Linked DNA regions of Homo sapiens: region 1 is linked to region 2. The links are contacts of gene promoters, found by promoter capture Hi-C in blood cells and fetal thymus (Javierre and others, 2016). All regions are on one chromosome and are shown on one strand. Each heading gives the region's core, a stretch centred on a gene start or on the middle of the fragment in contact. The rest is flanking DNA. Distances are from core to core; before and after follow the strand shown.

The links. Contacts are between HindIII fragments. The CHiCAGO score rates a contact against its expected background, and 5 or more counts as called.
Region 1: a contact is called between a fragment that was not itself captured here and the fragment with the promoter of TET2 in region 2, in 1 of 17 cell types (total B cells). The highest score is 5.7, in total B cells.

Annotation. Positions count from the first base shown.
Region 1 is chr4:108,617,288-108,620,903 of GRCh38, reverse strand. It overlaps RPL34 (ribosomal protein L34), which reads right to left and starts at 328. Exons shown (of 5, transcript NM_001319236.2): 1 at 304-328. RPL34-DT (RPL34 divergent transcript) reads left to right here and starts at 447. Exons shown (of 4, transcript NR_026968.1): 1 at 447-596. RefSeq lists enhancers at 316-365, 1-790. The HindIII fragment of the contact is 903 bases long and covers 799-1,701 here.
Region 2 is chr4:105,145,481-105,149,298 of GRCh38, reverse strand. It overlaps TET2 (tet methylcytosine dioxygenase 2), which reads right to left and starts at 2,423. Exons shown (of 11, transcript NM_001127208.3): 1 at 2,320-2,423. It overlaps LOC124900868, which reads left to right. Exons shown (of 3, transcript XM_047416559.1): 2 at 2,338-3,804. The coding sequence ends at 3,026. RefSeq lists silencers at 1,449-1,518, 2,482-3,161 and enhancers at 1,849-1,898, 2,242-2,411. The HindIII fragment of the contact is 4,110 bases long and covers 2,195-3,818 here.

The DNA of each region.
Region 1 (3,616 bases), core at 1-2,500, 3.5 Mb before region 2:
GGCGATTTTCCAGACTCAAACCGCCAAACCACAACTCGTTAGTCTCCAAACGCTACACTTGGAATGCAGCAAAGTCCCGGGTGGTGAGCTGTGGCTACTCACGGCTTTGGAGGTGCCACCAGGAACAAGGGATTTCCAAAGATCAAAGTAAGGAACTTCCTCACCACCAACCTCCCTGTTGTGCCCCTTACCCCTACACCAGCTCAAAGGACTGCTTCTGAGAGCTCTAGGCTTCCTCAGCTCCTCGGATGGCAGCCGATTGGTAAGGAAATAAAGACAGGGAAAAGAGAACAACATCCATACCTGCAGACAACGTCCCCGGAAGAGGAAGAAAAAAGCCTTTGCCAGTTCAAAGGTCAAATAGAATTGCGCAGGACAGGAAGTTGCGTCAGAGAGAGAGTATCCGTGTTGTACGGAAGCCGACGCACCTCTCCGACGTGGGCAGAGATGCAGGGAACCACCACGTTGTACGGCAACCAACGTGCCGCCCCTCTGTGGGCGGGGATTCACACTAGCTGTCTGTGTCAAGGCCACGCAGAAATCTATTGGAAATCGCTGTGGAAACAAACGCAAATGAAAAGCCGCAAAGAGCAAAGGTGGGACAAAATCAACTTCTTTCGTTGTCATGGACACTGCACTTTTAATCTAAAGGGCGCCAGCTCTGGCGTTAGACCTGGGTTTAAATCCCAACTCTTGACATTTATGGTTAAGGGACCTTCAAGGACCAGGGACCTTCAAGAACCTTCCCTTCTTCAACCTTCCCTTCTCTTTCCTTGTCATTTATTCAGAGCACAAGCTTTACAAACAAATTGGGATTTTAATCCAGTGTCTGCTAATTATTAGCTATGTTACTTTGAGCAAGCCCTTAAATCTCTAAAAGGAAGATATTAGGAACTACCGTGCCATGTTATGTCATGATCAAAGGCATTATGAAGTTAAAGCACTTAGCACAGGGTCTTATAGAGAGGAAGTGCTCAGTAAATGGTTGCTAATCTTATGATTATGTACAAAGAACTACTTGAGGCTTTTCATGGGTGGTAAAGTTTAACCTTTAAAACAGTATGTAAAATTTTACATTAAGCGCACGTGTGTATTTTTCTGAGAAGAGGGTCCCTGGCTTTCATCACCTTGTCAAAGGGATTCATGACCTCTAAAAAAGTAAAGAACTCTTTGCCTGGGCTGTAAAAGACAATTCTAAAAGGGGCCTTTAAGTTTTTAATCTTAGATCAGGCTCCCTGGAAACACACCTCGAAGAGACTTGAGTGTTGGCTTATGGGGAGCGCTCTTAGAATGCACCTCCAGGAAGCTGAGAAAGGCGGGGTCAGGTGATCCACAACGTGGTTGCTGTGAGGCAGCTGCATTGCCCCAGAAGAGAGGATTTGGATAGGATATCCCAGTACCCACTCAACTTTCCTTCTAGTATTTCTAATCCATCTAGCAAACCAAGAAAGCAGGCAAGTGACTGAGGGCATGTAGTCTGTCTTGAACTGTGAGGCCTATTGATTCTATCAAGCCTCACATCACTGCCATCTTTGTCACAACACCAGATGGAAGGCTCTGGTTATATCCTTCCCTCTGCTCACTCTCAAATAGCTGCTTCTCCCCCGACCTTGTCATCAGCTACTTCCCTCCTTTCCAGTCCTTTGATTTTTGTCCTCTGAAATCCTTTTCGTCTCTGTGCCAGGCATTGAGATGGAAGCTTGCATAGAGAGACAAATGTGGTTTTTGAATAAATGCACTAATGAATGTATTTACTTGCAATATGTTCTCTATATTTTAAGAGAGACTTTGCAGAGCAGAAGAGAACAGGAGATGGGAGCCCTTGGCACACTATGCTGTTGTTTACGTCTCTGTCCGTGCCTTCCCCCACCCAAGTAGATAAGAATAGTGGTCTCATTGTTGTAGTTTTCCCTTAAGGTACTTAACCCAGTTCCATAATACTATTTTTCCCTCTCTTTAAATTTGTATTTGCATTTTTTCTTGATCAGTCTTGAGAGAGATATGGCAATCTTATTAAAAACTTCAAAGACAGCCAGGTACAGTGGCCCATGCCTGTTAATCCTAGCACTTCGGGAGGCTGATACAGAAAGATCACTGAGACCTGTAGTTAAAGATCAGCCTGGGCAACATAGCGAGACGCCCATCTCTACAAATTTTTTTTTTTTAATTAGCCAGGTGTTGTAGCACACACCTTTAGTCCCACCTACTCAGGAGGCTGAGGCTGGAGGATCACTTGAGCCTAGAAGTTTGAGGCTGCAGTGAACCATGATTGTGCCACCATACTCCAGCCTGGGCAACAGAATGAGATCCTATCTCAATAATAATAATAATAATAATAAATGTATGAAACTTTGGTATATGACAAAGGTAATATATCAGATTGGTGGGGAAAGATTGGTGACTATTCAGTAAATGAAGTTGGGAAAAATGGTTATACATATGGAAAGAAAAAATTGTATCCTTAAGTCACTCTACACTGAAAAAAAAAACCTTAAATGAGTCAATAATAAGGCTTTAATTTATTAGGAAATATAGGTGACTATCTTATAGACGTTGGAGTAGAAGAGGATTTTTTAAACAAGGCACAAAAAGCACAAACTCAGAAAAGACCAATAAATCTGACCACATTACAATTAATAGCTTTTATCAAAAAACCCTTAAATAAAAAAATGTTAAACCTCAAAGTTTCCCAGTCCAAGCCAAAAAAAGTATGATAGGTTCACCTTATTTTAATTTCACAAAAATTTGTAAAATATTTATTAAGTGCACACAGAAATTAATGAACAGAGAACAAAGACAGATTAAAAAAACAAATGAGATTCTTTAGGCCGGGTGTGGTGGCTCATCCCTGTAATCCCAGCACTTTGGGAGGCCAAGGCAGGTGGATCGCTTGATGCCAGGAGTTCAAGACCAGCCTGGCCAACATGGCGAAACCCCGTCTCTACTAAAAATACAAAAATTATCTGGGCGTGGTGACAGGTGCCTGTAATCCCAGATACTCAGGAGGCTGAGGCACGAGAATCACTTGTGCCTGGGAGGTGGAGGTTGCAGGGAGCCAAGATTGCACCACTGCACTTCCACTGAAGTTGCCAGCCTGAGCAACATAGAGAGATCCTGTCTCTAAAAAAAAAATTTTAAGGGGTTTTGTACATGTGATTATGATTACTAATCAGTAGACTACAAAGGAAGCCAAAATTAGAAGTGGAATGAAGGAATGTGTTGCAAGACACCAACAGCTTTTGTTATGCTAAAAATAGAACTCGTTATTGGCAGTTGTTTTTTCTTGATTTTCTTGCTTTCAGTACTTTATGCCACTAAGCATAAAATAATCATTTTAGTATGCTCATGGATTCTATGGATCAGGAATTTCTACATGGTATAATGAGAATAGTTTGCCTTTACTATGTAATGATTGGAGCCTCAACTGGGGGGTAACTTGAACAGCTAAGGTGTGCATGGGTTCTCTAGAGAAACAGAACTGATAGGGTATACATTTATTTGTTTATTTATTATAGGAATTGGCTCATGTGATTAAGGCAGAGAGGCCCTGCAATCTGCCATCTGCAAGCTGGAAAACCAGGACAGCTGGTCGTATAAGCCCTAGTCTGAGTCCAGA
Region 2 (3,818 bases), core at 1,174-3,673:
TCAAAATTATTAACCAATGTAGTTATTCTTATTTATTGAGTGGAAAATGTTGTATCTATTATTAGTTGAGTAGCCTGAAGACAGTATATACCACAACATTTGAAAAGTTGTCCCCAAAAAGTAAATATTAGTTTGTTAGCAAAAGGAATTGTTTTTAATTCTGAATTGCTGGAATAATTAACCATAGTTTTCTCGATAGTTTACCATGAACAGCATTAATGGTAAAATCCTAATTTTTGTTTTAATTTTAGGGCAAATAAGAACTAACCAATGAACCGTTTCTATTCCACAGAGATGAGTAATGCTTCTCCCTTGTAATCATGTGAAAGAACCCCACGTATCAATGATTAAAGCAAACTACATTAAATTAACAAAGATCAAAATAGAAAGTTACAAAGTGAACTATCGAGGACAAATAGTTTTGGAAATTCGACTTATGGAGAAATATCTATTATTGTGTTTTTCCTTCTATCCATTTTTTAATCCTATAAATTGTCTTCTAAACTTCAGTTTGATTATCCAACACTTCATTAACCGTTCTCTGCTTATTAACATTTAAAAAAATCAATATTTATTGTGTTTAAATTTATATTCTATTCCAAACATTATTAAGCACACATACAAACATGTAAAAGAACATAACTCCCCTTAGTATTTCAACTTTCCATTAAAATGCAAATGTAATGATTTCATTAGCCAGGCAACAATACCCACAGTATCACACCAAACCAAACCAATGTCTTTTCTCTGTGAATCCCAACTTCCCTTAAGATACAATCTTATTCCTATGATGGATCATTTGTTGATGAATATCTTTGAATTTGGGTTTCCCATTATAATCCCTGACTGAAGGGGAAAAAGCACAATGTGTGATTTGAGATATTAAATTCATGAATGTATTCCACTCCCTAGACACGTAAATATATAAATATTTCACTAAATTTTATGCACTAAATTTTACCGCTGGAAAATAAGCCTTTTCTCAATTCTTAAACATTAGATGAAGAAGGGAGAACTCCCTCAATGTAATTAAAAGTATATCATGAGGGGAATAACCAGCAAATAACACTTATATTTCATTTTCGGCCTTTCCAGGAGTCTATCCAGGCCACACTTCATTATGTCATAGGTAGAAAACTCTCCATACAAACCCTATTAGCTTAATAAAACTAGACAAGCAGTCCCAGTGAAAAGATTCAGCAAGATGCGAGTGAGGTGTGTGTGTGTGTGTGTGTGTGTATGTGTATGAGAGAGAGAGAAGAAAGAGTAGAGAGGAGACACAGAGAGAAAGGCAGAGAGATGAAAGACCAAAGAGAGAAGCCAAAGAGAAATTTGGATGGGACTGTTATAAATCTGCTCTTCACTTCTTTGCTGGGATTGGGTTTCATTTCTTTAGGCGCCCCTGACCTTGCAGTCTTGCAACTCCAACGCTGCGCTCCCCACCCCCTCCCGCCCCCTCCCCGGGCCTGCGCCTGCCTTTGTGTCTGCCTGTCACTTACCAAGGAACCAAACGAAGCTGATTCGGGAGAAGCACAAAGCCGGGACACAGATTTGTCCATAAATTCTCTTACATACATTCCCCAGGCTGGAAGGCTCAGCCCAGCGCTGACTTATGTACCTTGAGAAAAGTGAGTTCTGGTCTTGTTTGGGGAACCAGAGAAACTATTCTTTCCTCTTTCACTCAGCGCCGCTAACAAAACGCGCGGACTTAAGGAAAAAAAAAACCCACTCAGTGTACTCCAATTCCACTCCCTGTGACATTCACTTCGTACAGCCCCCTAAAGGGGGATAAGAAGGTAGGAGGAGGCAGACACAAACCCAGACCCAGACCCTACAGCTGATAAAAGGGTCGAAAAACACCCTATCAGTGTTCTCTCTGAGGTTGTTCAGGATAAACGGGAGACTCGTTTCACTTACACGAAAGAAACAGGGGAAGAGGATTAAAGGGAAAAGTAGTGCCCCCAAAGCTGAACTATTTTAGAAAGGAAAGCAAATTTAAAAATCACTTTTCTGAGGATTAAAAAAGGCCGGGAAACCGGCTCGTCGGAGGCACAAAGGTAAGTTTTCTGGGAGATGAGGGGACGAGCATTAGGAGGAGAGAAGAGAACACAGAACTACAGGTTTAAAAGGGGTAGAGGGAATTAAAACTATATTTGTCAGCCATGTTGAAGAGGCTCCAGTAATTTGTGAAGCTTCCCTCTTCCCTCTTGGTATTTGTGGGTGACACTACAGGGTTTGCTCCCCAGTCCCTGGAAGCCCGAGAAAAAGCGAAGGGGAGAAGAAAGGGAGAGTTTCGCGGCATAAGAGAAGCGCTCTGACCTCGTTCTCGTCCCTCAGCCTTGCAGCAATCCAGCAGTTGCAGTCGGGTCTCCTTTCTAACAAATCCTAAAGGGCAGCCATCTTGCTTCCTTCTGCTTCTCTACGAAAGCAGCCTAGCCTCCGCATCAATATTCATAAGGCAGTTTGACGTCTGTTCTCATCACTCAGCGGGGCCGGCGTCTCGGGGCGGCCGCGCCGAGGGGGCGGACGTGACTTGCATGCGAGCGGGACCCGGGCGCGCGGCGCTCGCGAGGAGGCGGCGGCGGCCGCCCAAGCTCTCGCCGCTGCCACTGCCGCTACCGCCGGCTCTCCTCCTCCGCCCGGGCCTCCTCCTGCTCCGCCCCGGCCTCCTCCCGCTCCGCCCCGGCCTGCGCCGCCGCCCTGGGGCCCTCAGCCCCGGCTCCCAGGGAATTAGCCCCCCGCACCGGGCGTCCAGCACAAAGGCCGGCGGCACCTGGGGCCGTACAGCGGGGCGCGCAGTGGAGACCTGGGCTGCCCTCACGCCGTGCAGTGGCGCGGGGGGAGTGGTGCGCCCGGACCAGCGCGGAGTAGGGGCCAGGGCTGGCGAGCGCGGGGAAGGGTGCAGCCCTCGGGAACCCCGGGGACCTCGGCGGGTCTCCACCCCTGGGAGAAGAAGCAGAGCAAGCGCGAAGGTTGGGGGCGAGGTGGGAGGTTGGGATGGCACGGGTGCCTGGACAAAGACGTGACATCTAAGATTTCCCTTTGAAACTTTTTGCTGGTCTGCACTCCACCACCACTTCGAGGTCCCGCGCACACGCCCCCGCGCGCACCCACCTCCTCCGGAGTGTACCCGCACGTGCCCTCGCTCTGGCCCCCGCCTCCACCCACTGGCACCTCTCCCCGCACCACACCTCCGCTTGCGCCCACCTTACCCTCAGAGGCCCGCGTCTCTATCTCCCTTTAGATCCCGTTGCCCGCGCTCTCCTTTCCCTTTTCTGTCGCTTTAATCTCATTCAGCAGAAGCGCTCCCCTGTTTCACCGAGGGCATGCCCTTAGTGCTTTAGGGGCCTGTATTTTTAAAGACCCGACAAACTGGGAAATTGACCGAGTTCTGTTTCTCCCCGCCCCGGCCCACCTTCTGTTTACTTTAGCCACGTGGGCTGAGTAGAAGGGGGCGTCTCACAGATTGAAATAGGTTTCTCACTAGTGACCCCCTACTTCTCGCTAGGAGGAAATAAACCTGCACTTTCAAATGCTTAAGTTGCCTCTCGTAAGAGCCCTTACTTTGAAGTAGTTTCCCCCCGTACAATTAAGTAATGAAGAAACCGACCGATACAGAGCTAATTCCGAATGACGGATGCTTGATTTTCCCTGACATTCGGAGCTCTGTAACTATGCTCTTCCTTTGACCGGAGTTTTTCTCTATTGCCGAGTAGTGTTACTTCCCCCTTCTAATGCTCCTTTTTCTAATCATCAACTTTTTATTTGAAGATGAGATGAAGAACAAAGCCCATATGAGTCATAGTAAGTATCATATT